Linked DNA regions of Homo sapiens: region 2 is linked to region 1. The links are contacts of gene promoters, found by promoter capture Hi-C in human tissues and cell types (Jung and others, 2019). All regions are on one chromosome and are shown on one strand. The core of a region is centred on a gene start or on the middle of the fragment in contact, and the rest is flanking DNA. Distances in the headings are between cores, read along the strand shown.

Region 1 (5,897 bases), core at 1,527-4,026:
ATCTTCTGAAGTATACCAAAAACCGTGAACACTTGTAAAAGAATAACTGATTGACTCTAAGGAGAACTGGATGCCTGAGAGAAGGAGGTAGGAGAGACTTTGCCCTGTTATGGTGTTTTGTAAGGATTGAATTTTGAGCTGTATGAACGAATTACAAGTCAAAAAATAAAATACAGAAGTTATCTCCTCTCTATAACATCATCCCCCACTTCTGCCCTCAGTTAACTTTCCCTATCACCAATGAGTGGTATAGAGTCAACCTCCTCAGTATATCAGTATACTTCTCTGTAAACAGAACCCAGGCACAAGTCTATTTACAAAGCCAGTTTAATGAAACCACTATATAAACTCAGTTTGAAGAAAAAGTCCATTGAGTCTCCAAGATGGAGAAACTGTGAGCTGTGAGCCTCAACAACACCACATTCTGAGTTTAGAAATGAAAGGAAGCAGAGATATGGGATTAAAGTTAATGATAGTCTAGGATCCATTAGGGTTGTATTTTTTAGTAGCAAGAACATTCCTGGGATTTTGAAGTCAGGAAAAATATTCAGTGAATGTAAAAAAAAAAAATTCTGCATTATCAACAAATTAGCCCCAAAGTGATTAAGTGTGAGACTCCAAGTACCCCAAGAACTAAGTCTGACAGAGTTTTAAGGTTCACTGGTGTCTTTTAAGAGGCAGAGATAGACCAGGAGGGAGCAAAAGAAGGAATTAAGAATTTTCCTTTCTTCCAGAGCCTATTCTTTTCTTACTAAACACATTAACCAATTTTCTACAGAAGTGGTACTGTCAAAATTCTTCCTCATGAACTGAATCTGGGGGTTCACTAAACTGAAAAGCATCTCTGGCTAAAAATGCACCAACTGTACAACACAAAAGATTAAAATTAAAATTATGGAAAGTTGTCTTTGAAGGGATAAGGGTGAAGTGGTCTGTAAATTTAACTAAGGAAGGCAGTGGCTAACCCTCTTCTTTCTACACAAAGAACCCATCACTGATGAGTTTGCCCTTACACTGGTTAGATACCATAGCAAACTTCCTAGTACAAATAGAAAATTGATTGTAAACCAGAACATGTAGAAGTGAAAGAGACCTTGGACAGACTTCCTAAAAATACTGCCAAGGAAACTGAGACCAAGAAAATTGCCCAAAGTGACGCAGGTGATTAATGGTAGCGCTACCTCTGCTTGGTCTTGTGTTTACTTTTGCCTTTAAATATTTTAAAAGACACTGATGACCACTGATCTTGAATGGATCTCAAAGCTTTGCAAGGAGGCAGGGGGGCTTACTTAGGGAAGACTTCCTTTCTCCCATAGATTTAACTCCTTTATAAGTATAATTCATTTGTTGTGTGCATATATGACTATATTTGGAAAGAAGTAGTATTTATGGTGCTGAAGAGATATTCAGCATCATATCAAGATGATCAAGAAATATCAAGTTATGCCAAACACTGGGGCCACTCCCTACACTGAAATGTTTCCAAATTCTGTGATAAAAATCAAAGGCTCAAAAGTCAAGAAACAGATCCACTGTTTCTGCAATGTGTTTTGTGAACTCTATTTGTGCCCTGTGGGCCAGTCTCAGTGATGGATTTTCTTATCTATGAAATGGGACCAATGACCTCAACTCAGATTTACTTGGGTGTTCTCAGGCATGCATCAAAGGCATACTGCTGAAATTCTTAGCACATAAATACCACTATGTAATAGTGAGTCTGTAAAATAGTTATGAATAGGCAATAATGGAATAGTTAATAAATATGAGTATTGCAATATTCTTTTTATATGATTGTCTTTTAAGTCATCAAATTTCTGAACATCTTCTGAAACTGAAGGAATAGAAAAGGGAATTTAAATAGTATAAAATGCTATCATAATAATATGGTAACTGCGGGCATATCTATAGACATTCATACTGCCACGGTTAGTGGCATAAATTCTTATCTTTTGCTTAAGGAATAAATACATTTTTTCCTACAGTAGTGAATGCAGGACAGATTTCACCAGAATGAAATTGGATGGCATCAAGTCTATTTAATGTAACACTTTGTTAAACAGAATATTTTCCCCAAACCCAAAGCACCTAAAAGTTTAATTCAGGAGACTTTGGAAATGAGAGGAGGATTAAGAATGAAAAATACTTTAGTGGGAAGTGAACTTTTTAAAATTATTTTTAAAGAATCAAGGCCCCAACTTCTTCAGCACTTCAGGCAACGGATCACAGGTTTTTGTTTTATTGGAGAAGAAACAAAGTAAATAACAGTTCTGAGGATGAACAAAAGCTGTTGGGAATACCCATTTCACTCCTCAAAGTGGGGGCGCGTTTTATGAATAATTTCAGCCGGCTAACATACCTTCCTGCAAAACACAGACAAGATGTAAATTAAAAAGTGGCAGAGTTGTGGCATATTGCAAAAGTTTAAAGGGAGTCATCAGTCCTTCAGTCAGATCTCCCTGCAGAAAGGTTGGCGCTGAGGTTGGAACTGACCCTAGAGGGCTGGAGAGGACCCCTTGGGGGTGAGCAGCCGGGTTCTGGGACCCAGCAAGGTCAGGGGGCGTCTCCCCAGCTACTCTTTATCTATCCCCCGCACTCTGGAAAGCCCGAAGAGGATTCGCTCCAAGTTAGGCGCGCTGTTGGCTGTCAACGTTCTTTAGGACCTCAGGGAAACCGGGACGTTTCTGGCTTTAGGACCCAGGAACTCCGAGGCAGCCTAGACTTAGATGCCTTGGACCACAGCACCACCTACTTATAGAAGCATCCCAAGCCTCAGCCGGTCTGCATCTCCATCGGAAAGTGCGCTTGCCACATCCCTTCGGATCACTTCGTCCTCCCGAGAGCGTTCTGCCTTCTACAGCTCGGAAAGAAAGAAATCTTAGCTGTGAAGTGACCGTGGAGAAAGCGCAGGAAGCGACACAATTGGTTAGGGAGGCAGAGAGTGTGAGCGGGCGCACCCCTTGCCTGGGGACCGCGCTCGCGGGCGGGGACGGAGCATCCCAGTGGCTGCACCCGCCGCTCCGCGCTCCTGCCTGGCGTCGCCAACCCCGCGGCGGCCGCTGGAATTCCAGAGCTGCCAGGCGCTCCCAGCCGGTCTCGGCAAACTTTTCCCCAGCCCACGTGCTAACCAAGCGGCTCGCTTCCCGAGCCCGGGATGGAGCACCGCGCCTAGGGAGGCCGCGCCGCCCGAGACGTGCGCACGGTAGGCAACCCACACCAAGGCAGCCGCAGCTGCGGCGCTTGGGTACACCGCCGTGGACTCCAAATGGCCTAAGAGCGTTCTTTTAGCCCTGCGCTCTCAGTGCCTTTAGAGTTCTTTCCTTTCCCCGGAGCGCCGGCACAACGCATTATGCCGCTGGGTCGGAGCTTAGGGCTCGGCAGAGGTTGCTAATTCACTGATTATAATCACCTTCCTCTCCAACTCGTCCGCAGCTGCCCGCTCTGGATTAAGCCGCTCCGCGGCTCGTGCTAGGCAGTGGGTTCGCTTCCTCCTTCCCTCTCTTCTTTAAATTGGGACGTGCGAAGGCGCAGCTGCCTCCCCGGGGCTCTCTCCATCCCCCACACACCCTGTTTTCGCTTCTTGTCTCTCAGGTTCGTGGCGGAGAGATGCTGATCGCGCTGAACTGACCGGTGCGGCCCGGGGGTGAGTGGCGAGTCTCCCTCTGAGTCCTCCCCAGCAGCGCGGCCGGCGCCGGCTCTTTGGGCGAACCCTCCAGTTCCTAGACTTTGAGAGGCGTCTCTCCCCCGCCCGACCGCCCAGATGCAGTTTCGCCTTTTCTCCTTTGCCCTCATCATTCTGAACTGCATGGATTACAGCCACTGCCAAGGCAACCGATGGAGACGCAGTAAGCGAGGTGGGTCCCTCTCTGCCAAAGGTGCGTGGTGGGCTTCAGGGGTGGCGTGTGGAGGCGCTCACTCACGCCCTGGCTCCGGGGGCTCAGATGGTCAGGGCTGTGCTCTCCACCCCAGCTTTTGCGGGTCCCCAGTCCCCACCTTTAGGACCCTGGAGCTCTACAAAACACTCTGTTTTCTGTACCCTGGAGGCGCGGGGAGCCGGAGCGAGACGCGCTGGGAGCTCGGCGAGCCGGGCGCCAATCGGGCGCTCAGGGCTAAGTCGTGCGGTCCGCACTCATGTTCGCCGCCCCACCTCCTCATCTAAACTTGTCTCTTTAGGACGTATTTCTTATCTGACATGCATTTTTTTTTTGTCGTCGTTGTTCTTCTCTCTGTCCTCCTAACCATCTTCCCTGTAGCTCATTTGTTTTATCTTCCCCATCCACGTGCGCCCCAAACCCGGCCTCAGATCTCTTCGGACTTGACCTAGCATAGTGTGTGTGTGGTGTGTGGGTGTACCCAAGCGTGTGTCTGTATTCCGGAGCTTGGGAGGGGTACCAAGTCGAGGGGGAGGACCTCCCTTTCCAGAAAAAGGCCAACATAGATCTCTTTTTTCTGGAAACTGCGACGAGATGGGAACTTTCTGAATTAAGCAGCAATTCCCGCGCTGGTTTTCTGGGGAGTCCTCGCCTCCAGAGGTTTGTTTTTAAAACAGGCCCCACTTCGCTCTCTCCATTTGCTTTGCAAAAGCAGCCACACCGGTGGAGGCTTCTGTTCTCAATGAAATTCACTTGCGGCTTTTTAACTGCTCCCTCCCTCTCCATCACTTGTGCGTAGCGGAGAAGGCGGGTGGAAGCCTCCAGAAAGGTTTCGGGGAACTCGCTTTCCTGCAGATTTAGTGCGTATTTCTGTCTCGGAGTCCGCTGGAGATGCAACTAATCCAACTGCATTTTAGAAGAAGGGCGGCTAGACACGATTCAATTTTCTGGGTGGATTTAAACATAAACCACTCACCACACGCACATCGAATTACCCGCGCAGGAAGGGCGCGCAGCAGCCCCTTCCCAGGGACCTGGTGAGAGCTGTCTATTTCATTCGGCACTTTGGACTTTTGCGCAATTAGAATTTGTCGCCGGGTTCATGAATGTTGACTTTTTCTCCAAGATGTAAACATCTCACTCGATCTGTGATGTGATTTGTTTATAACTCATTGTGTGTAATCTCCGCTCCTGCATCCAGATTTTGAGGAGGACTTTCCGAACCTTATTTTTTTGATGGCTTTTTAGGACATTGTTAAGCTGTTCTCACCTAGGGGCAGAGCTAGAGATTGGCCCACCTGAGCGCAGAGCTCCAAATAACTGATGGTGTGCGACTTCTGTAGTCCCTGCGCTTCAATTGTCTCTGTATCTGCGGCTTGTAAGAATAAACCTTCTCCAACTTCTCTCCCTCCCTCTCCCCCGATTTCTGACTTTTGGAAATTGTTTATTTTCAGAAATTATTTTACTTAAAAATACTAGAGAGAAATTTCTTCCCAAAGGCCATGAGAGTTTGATATTGATACTTGTCTTGAAAAAGTCCCTTTTTATCTCCTCTCTCCTCCCCTCCTGATTCCTTTCTCAATCCCAGTACTTTCTTTCGAGTATTCGGCAGAGCCAGCAATTTTTGATTACATTATGGTCAAAAGTGTTTGGAGAGGCTTTTCCTCTTTTTATAAGTCAAAGCTGCAGTCTACTTAGAAAAACTAAAGTGCTTGAAGTCTGCAAAATATAGAAATGTCTAAAATCCTTTGCCAGATCCTTATTAGATGACTTGCTAATTCAGTGATGGCTTTCTGATCCACCCTGCCTGTCCCATTGTGGTTGAGTGGGGAAGAACCAAGCATATTGTTTTAGTAGAACTTAATGCAGAGATGCTGTTTGGTGGAAAAGGACATTACAGCACTCCTGCGGCCAGAAGGGATACTGCATGCCTTCTCTGCAGTGCCATCTCTAAGAATCTGCCTATGCCTTCTTAGGTATCTGAAGCAGAACCTATTTATTTCAAAGCTTACTTTTAGCAAAATCTCT
Region 2 (5,897 bases), core at 1,065-3,564, 79 kb before region 1:
GTATTTGGCCTAGTGAGAATACAGAACAAGAAATACTTGTTAGTATTGGCTGTTATTATTTATAATTATACCTTTCTAAATCACTGTGGAATAATGAAGTTGACCATATTTAAGTTTCTATCATCCCTTCCATTTTAGCATTTACTAGCTGTATAACTTTGAGCATATTATATAATTTCTCTGGCCTTAGTTTTCTTATCTGTAAACTGAGAATAAGTGTAGTAGTACCTATTTCATAATATCTTTGTGAGGATTAAATAAATTAATACTTCTAAAGCTCTAGATAGTGCCTGGCATGTAGCTAAGTACTCAATAAGTGTTAGCTATTACTGCTACTATTATTATTATCATTGTTGTTATTGTTATTATTCTCAACCAAAGATTAACAAGTACTAATTGAGCACTATTATACTGACAGTGTTGGTAAAAGAAAAGATTTGTGAGCTATACTGAATATTAAACTATGTAGTATTGAGTCTAAATTTGTAGTACTAAATACTCAAAGTATTTGACTGATTAATCAATGTATGCATTAGTAATTCAGAAAATGGACTGTGAACTAGTCAGGAATAATCAGGAAGAACAATAGTCAATACTTTGGGAGAACTGAATACTTGGGGGAAATAAGGGAAAGTTTCCTAGACTGGGACAAGTGGAGCAAAGTGCATATGGAGAAAAACGTATTCACCGGCAGTAAGATAGACACAAAAAATTGCAAGATTGTAAAGTAATATAATGTATCACTATATAGCAGAGAAAATTAACTAATTGTACCTACATATCAATGTGAAAAATCTCATAAACAGAATATGGAGTGAAATGCACAAATCACAAGAGAAAACTGATATTCCATTTCTATAAAATTCTAAGGCAAAATTAAACTACATTGTTAAGGAATAACATATGTAAATGATAAAACTATTAACAATGATTATCACAAAAGTTAGGACAGTGGTTACATCTGGGGAAGAGAAGGGAAGAGAAGGGCAAAGAATGAGTTTCTAAGATACTAACAATGTTCTATCATTTCATAGTGTGTGTGTGTGTGTGTGTGTGTGTCTGCCTGTGTGTGAACTTGAGCATTTGCTTTACAACTGTTATTTTAACAAGTAAAAATCACTTAAAAGTAAGTGTGAATGAGGTCCAGAAAGTCAGCAAACCCAACCAGAGGGTACAGTATGTTGTGGAGTAGCAGGCATTAAAACAAATAAGGTGATCCTCAATCCATTTCTTTTTTAGCGCTGAGCAGCATCCAATTGGTTGCTCCCTCCATCACCCCCACTAAGCTTAAGAATCTCACCTTCCTCAAAATCCAGAGATAAGTAATGAAAGTCATCAAACAGAGTCAAGGGGTCACCACGGAGGGTATTGAATCCTCCGAGAGGAATGTTACCTCTGACACCTAGCTAGCCGGGCGGGGGTGTCCGGTGCAGGGTAAGAGTGAGGCGTTGATAGCCGGAGGTTGTCTATCGATATTAAGGGCTTCCCCCTTACAATTGAGGCCCTTATTTCAGTTGACAAATGACACCTCACTGAAAAGGACGATGGAATTCATTTCGCTATCGAGGCTATGGCTGAAGTAGAGTCTGATCAGTCCTCAGTGGGGAAATGGAAGAAGAGATTGAGTGAGGATAAAACAAAGGAATGTACTTTTACTATGAAGATCAGAACGAGACCACAGGCTGATATATGTGCAAATTTAGACACTTGGAGTTTATCTCCTGTGTCCAAAAATCTGCCCCAGACATTCCATTTCTCATTGCTGTCTTTCTTTTAAACTTGTTGTCAAGGAAATAAGATGCAAGCTGAGCAGGTGGGAACTAGAAGCAAAAAGTTTAATATTGTATGTGAATGCTTTTACAATCTAATGAGCAATAAAAAGATTCATTCTGAGCTCTTTATTATGTTTTAATGGCCAACCATGTAAAAGCTGGATATTTGAAAGTATTTTTGTGTTATTTGGGTTCAATTAAAACCTGTCTCTCTCTCTCTCTAATAATTATTCTGGGAACAAGGTAAATGTCCAAGATTAAATAAAAGGAACATCAGAATACCATAGCAGATAAGTCTTGCCTTGTTGTGATACTTATTTTGTTGTTGTTGTTGTTGTAGTATGTAAAGTGCTAGATACTTTACATAACCCCTCAACCATCTTTCAAAATTGTTAGTTTTTAGATAAGAAAGCGGAGGCTTTGTGAGGTTAAATAACTTGACCAAGAACACATAGTGAAGCTAGGAGGCCAACTCAGTTCTGTCTGAACTAAAAGCAAAAATGAGAGGTAATAGCTACTTTCTTAAGAAAAGAAAGGAGAGGACTTTACAGGGAGCTTTATCCAAGCTGGTCAGAGAGGTGGAAGGCCAGATCCCAGAGGGATTGCTATATTTAGGGAAAGTCTTTCTTAACTAGTGAAAGACTGGAAGGTGAGGCTGTTTACTGGGAAGAACAAAGGTATGACAGCTTCCTAAGGGAAAAAGAGATACAACCCTTGAAAGAACTGGAAGAAAGTGGTAGTGGATCCCCAGACTGGAAAGACTCAACACAGTGTATTTGGTTATAGTCATCTGAGGCATTGATTATGGTCCCATTTTTGCCACTAAATTGTTATTGAACTTTGTGCAATCATTTCACCAACTTGACAAATGTAAACTGCAATATATCATAATGTACTGAAGTTGAAGAAGTTAGTGAGGATACCTAGATCTGTATCAGCCTGGCACATGGAAGGAGTAAAGAAATCACATCAAGCTAAATATTAAATGTTTATAAATCTTAATTTATTTCTTTTTATCAGGTAAAAATAAACATAAAAAGAAGTGCTAACATTTTCTTCCTGCACTTCATTGAATTGTTTTACCACCCCATGGCTTTCAGGTACATGGGCTGAATGAAATATAGGATAAGGCTTAGAGAATGGCACTTCCAACTGGAGGCCTCTACATTGACAAAAGATCAGCCAGGTCAATTATGTTGAGAAAAGTATTTGACTTTAGAAACACTATGAGGGGGGTGGTTAGGAGACAGAGATGCCACAAGGGTTCTGAACTATAGCTCTTCTGCAAAAATGCCCTGTAATTTTGAAATGTAGAGACCATTGTTTTGGCCAGGCATGGTGGCTGACACCTGTAATCTGGGCACTTTGGAAGGCTGAGGTGGGAGGATTACTTGAGCCCAGGAATTTGAGACCAACCTGGGCAATATAGTGAGACCCTGGCACTACAAAAAAAAAATTACCCGGATTTGGTGGTTCACACCTGGTCCCACCTACTTGGGAGGCTGAGGTGAGAGGATCGCTTCAGCCTTGGAGGCTGAGGCTTCAGTGAGCTGTGACAGCGCCACTGCACTCCAGCCTGGGCAACACAGTGAGACCTGTCTCTAAAAATATATATATATATATATGTATATATATATATATATATATATAGAGAGAGAGAGAGAGAGAGAGAGAGAGACAGAGAGAACCTATGATGGACATTACCAAGTCAAATTCCTAAAGTGACCTCAATGAGTAAAATGGGTTGAATGAAAATGGCCACCCAGTCCTCTTGTTTTCTCATTTTGATAGGAAGTGTTTCTACTATAAGTCACAGCATGCATGCATGAAAACATGTGGCTTGTAACACTGCGTCTCAGTGCAGGACAAGAGTTGAGAGTGATGTGGATGATGTGAACTAGAAAACGGGTCAGCAGCTACTCATGTCTTGTTGATGGTTGTAATCCAGTTGTAATCCACTGGATGTTGATCCAGTCTTGCTAAATTTCTTATTTTTCCAAAGAGGCCAGAAATCCAACTATTAGGTAAAAATATCTTGATTAAAAAAAAGACTACCTTGGAACTAGGTTTTTGTAAAACATTGTAGGAACCACACAAAGCAGGCCGACAGCCTGATCTTCTCTGTAGTCAACTGGTTTGCAGCCCCTGACTTACTCCAATGCCAGAAACCTGGGCTTGCAAGTGGTTTTCATTTTATCCTCCAGGGGACTGACTAGCTGTGACTTCCTCAGGGAAGCCTTCCCTGGCCAGATTGGCTACCCCATTGGTATTTTCTCTAGTCTTCTGTATATCCCCATCCTTCCTTTCTACACACTTTTTTTGTAATTACATGTTTGATGCTTTTTGTTCCTGCTAGACTGTAAGTTAATTGAAGGAGGAAACTATTTCTGTGTTGGTCATTGTCATTAGGTTTCCTGGAATCAGACTGTAGTGGACTGGGAGTTGTGTGAAGGAGGTTTAGTGGGCAGTGCTCTTGGGAACACTAGGTGGGTGAGGGAACAGGATTGGGCTGGCAGAGAAATGGGGTGAACAATTTTTTAGAGATACAACCTGGGACACAGCCATAAATAATATAGAATAAAGAATTTGTGTGTTATGACTTCAACATAAAAGTATTTAAAATGGGCATATCCTTGAAATTGTATTAAATTCTGTATTATTTACTTTTCTGTTATATAAATACTATCATCTAAGCCAAAACAACATAAATAATTAACAATGGCAATTAGTAGTAATTAATAGTAGGACTAATTTAAAAAATCATGTGTGAGGAAGATTTAACAATATTTTGATAATATTTCTTTATCTGGAAAAATGATTTATTTTAACTCTTGTCATCTCTTTATTTGATAGTGATTGATTTCAGGCTATATTGGTGTGTACTTTATGATCCATAATTAAACAGATATTACCTGTATTTAATAAAAAAACAGTAATAAGATGTTTCTTTCTGTATCGCGATACAGGAGGATATTTTTTCCTCTTTCAATTACCTTTTTCAATAATACTCAGAACTGCCTACAACCTTTACTTTGGGGCAAGCTTTTATTCTTTTTTCTTTTTATTTTTTAATTGGTGGACTGTTTATTTAGGTCTTTAATTTTATATATATATATTTTTTATTATACTTTAAGTTCTAGGGTACATGTGCACAATGTGCAGGTTTTTACATATGTATACATGTACCATGTTGGTGTGCTGCACCCATTAACTCGTCATTTACATTAGGTATATCTCCTAATGCTATCCCTCCCCCCTCCCCCTACCCAACAATAGGCCCCAGTGTGTGATGTTCCCCTTCCTGTGTCCATGTGTTCTCATTGTTCAATTCCCACCTATGAGTGAGAACATGCGGTGTTTGGTTTTTTGTCCTTGTGATAGTTTGCTGAGAACGATGGTTTCCGGCTTCATCCATGTCCCTACAAAGGACATGAACTCATCATTTTTTATAGCTGCATAGTATTCCATGGTGTATATGTGCCACATTTTCTTAATCCAGTCTATCATTGTTGGACATTTGGGTTGGTTCCAAGTCTTTGCTATTGTGAATAGTGCCGCAATAAACATACATGTGCTTGTGTCTTTATAACAGCATGATTTATAATCCTTTGGGTATATACCCAGTAATGGGATGGCTGGTTCAAATGGTATTTTCAGTTCTAGATCCCTGAGGAATCGCCACACAGACTTCCACAATGGTTGAACTAGTTTACAATCCCACCAACAGTGTATAAGTGTTCCTATTTCTCCACATCCTCTCCAGCACCTGTTGTTTCCTGACTTTTTAATGATCGCCATTCTAACTGGTGTGAGATGGTATCTCATTGTGGTTTTGATTTGCATTTCTCTGATGGCCAGTGATGATGAGTATTTTTTCATGTGTCTATTGGCTGCATAAATGTCTTCTTTTGAGAAGTGTCTGTTCATATCCTTTGCCCACTTGTTGATGGGGTTGTTTTTTTCTTATAAATTTGTTTGAGTTCTTTGTAGATTCTGGATATTAGCTCTTTGTCATATGAGTAGATTGCAAAAATTTTCTCCCATTCTGTAGGTTGCCTATTCACTCTGATGGTAGTTTCTTTTACCGTGCAGAAGCTCTTTCATTTAATTAGTCGTTTGAAAAGA

What was found. The method cuts DNA at HindIII sites, captures the fragments that hold promoters and counts their contacts. A contact is called where the count stands out against the background at its distance.
Region 2: a contact is called between a fragment that was not itself captured here and the fragment with the promoter of RSPO2 in region 1, in 2 of the 25 tissues and cell types used here (IMR-90 fibroblasts and pancreas).

The regions. Positions count from the first base shown.
Region 1 is chr8:108,080,499-108,086,395 of GRCh38, reverse strand. It overlaps RSPO2 (R-spondin 2), which reads left to right and starts at 2,776. Exons shown (of 6, transcript NM_178565.5): 1 at 2,776-3,199; 2 at 3,589-3,851. The coding sequence starts at 3,758. RefSeq lists silencers at 3,745-3,920, 4,461-4,755 and an enhancer at 3,637-4,583. The HindIII fragment of the contact is 6,606 bases long and covers 1-5,897 here.
Region 2 is chr8:108,158,951-108,164,847 of GRCh38, reverse strand. No RefSeq gene overlaps it. Among named protein-coding and RNA genes, the nearest start is that of RSPO2, 78 kb to the right of the region's middle. The HindIII fragment of the contact is 6,641 bases long and covers 1-5,634 here.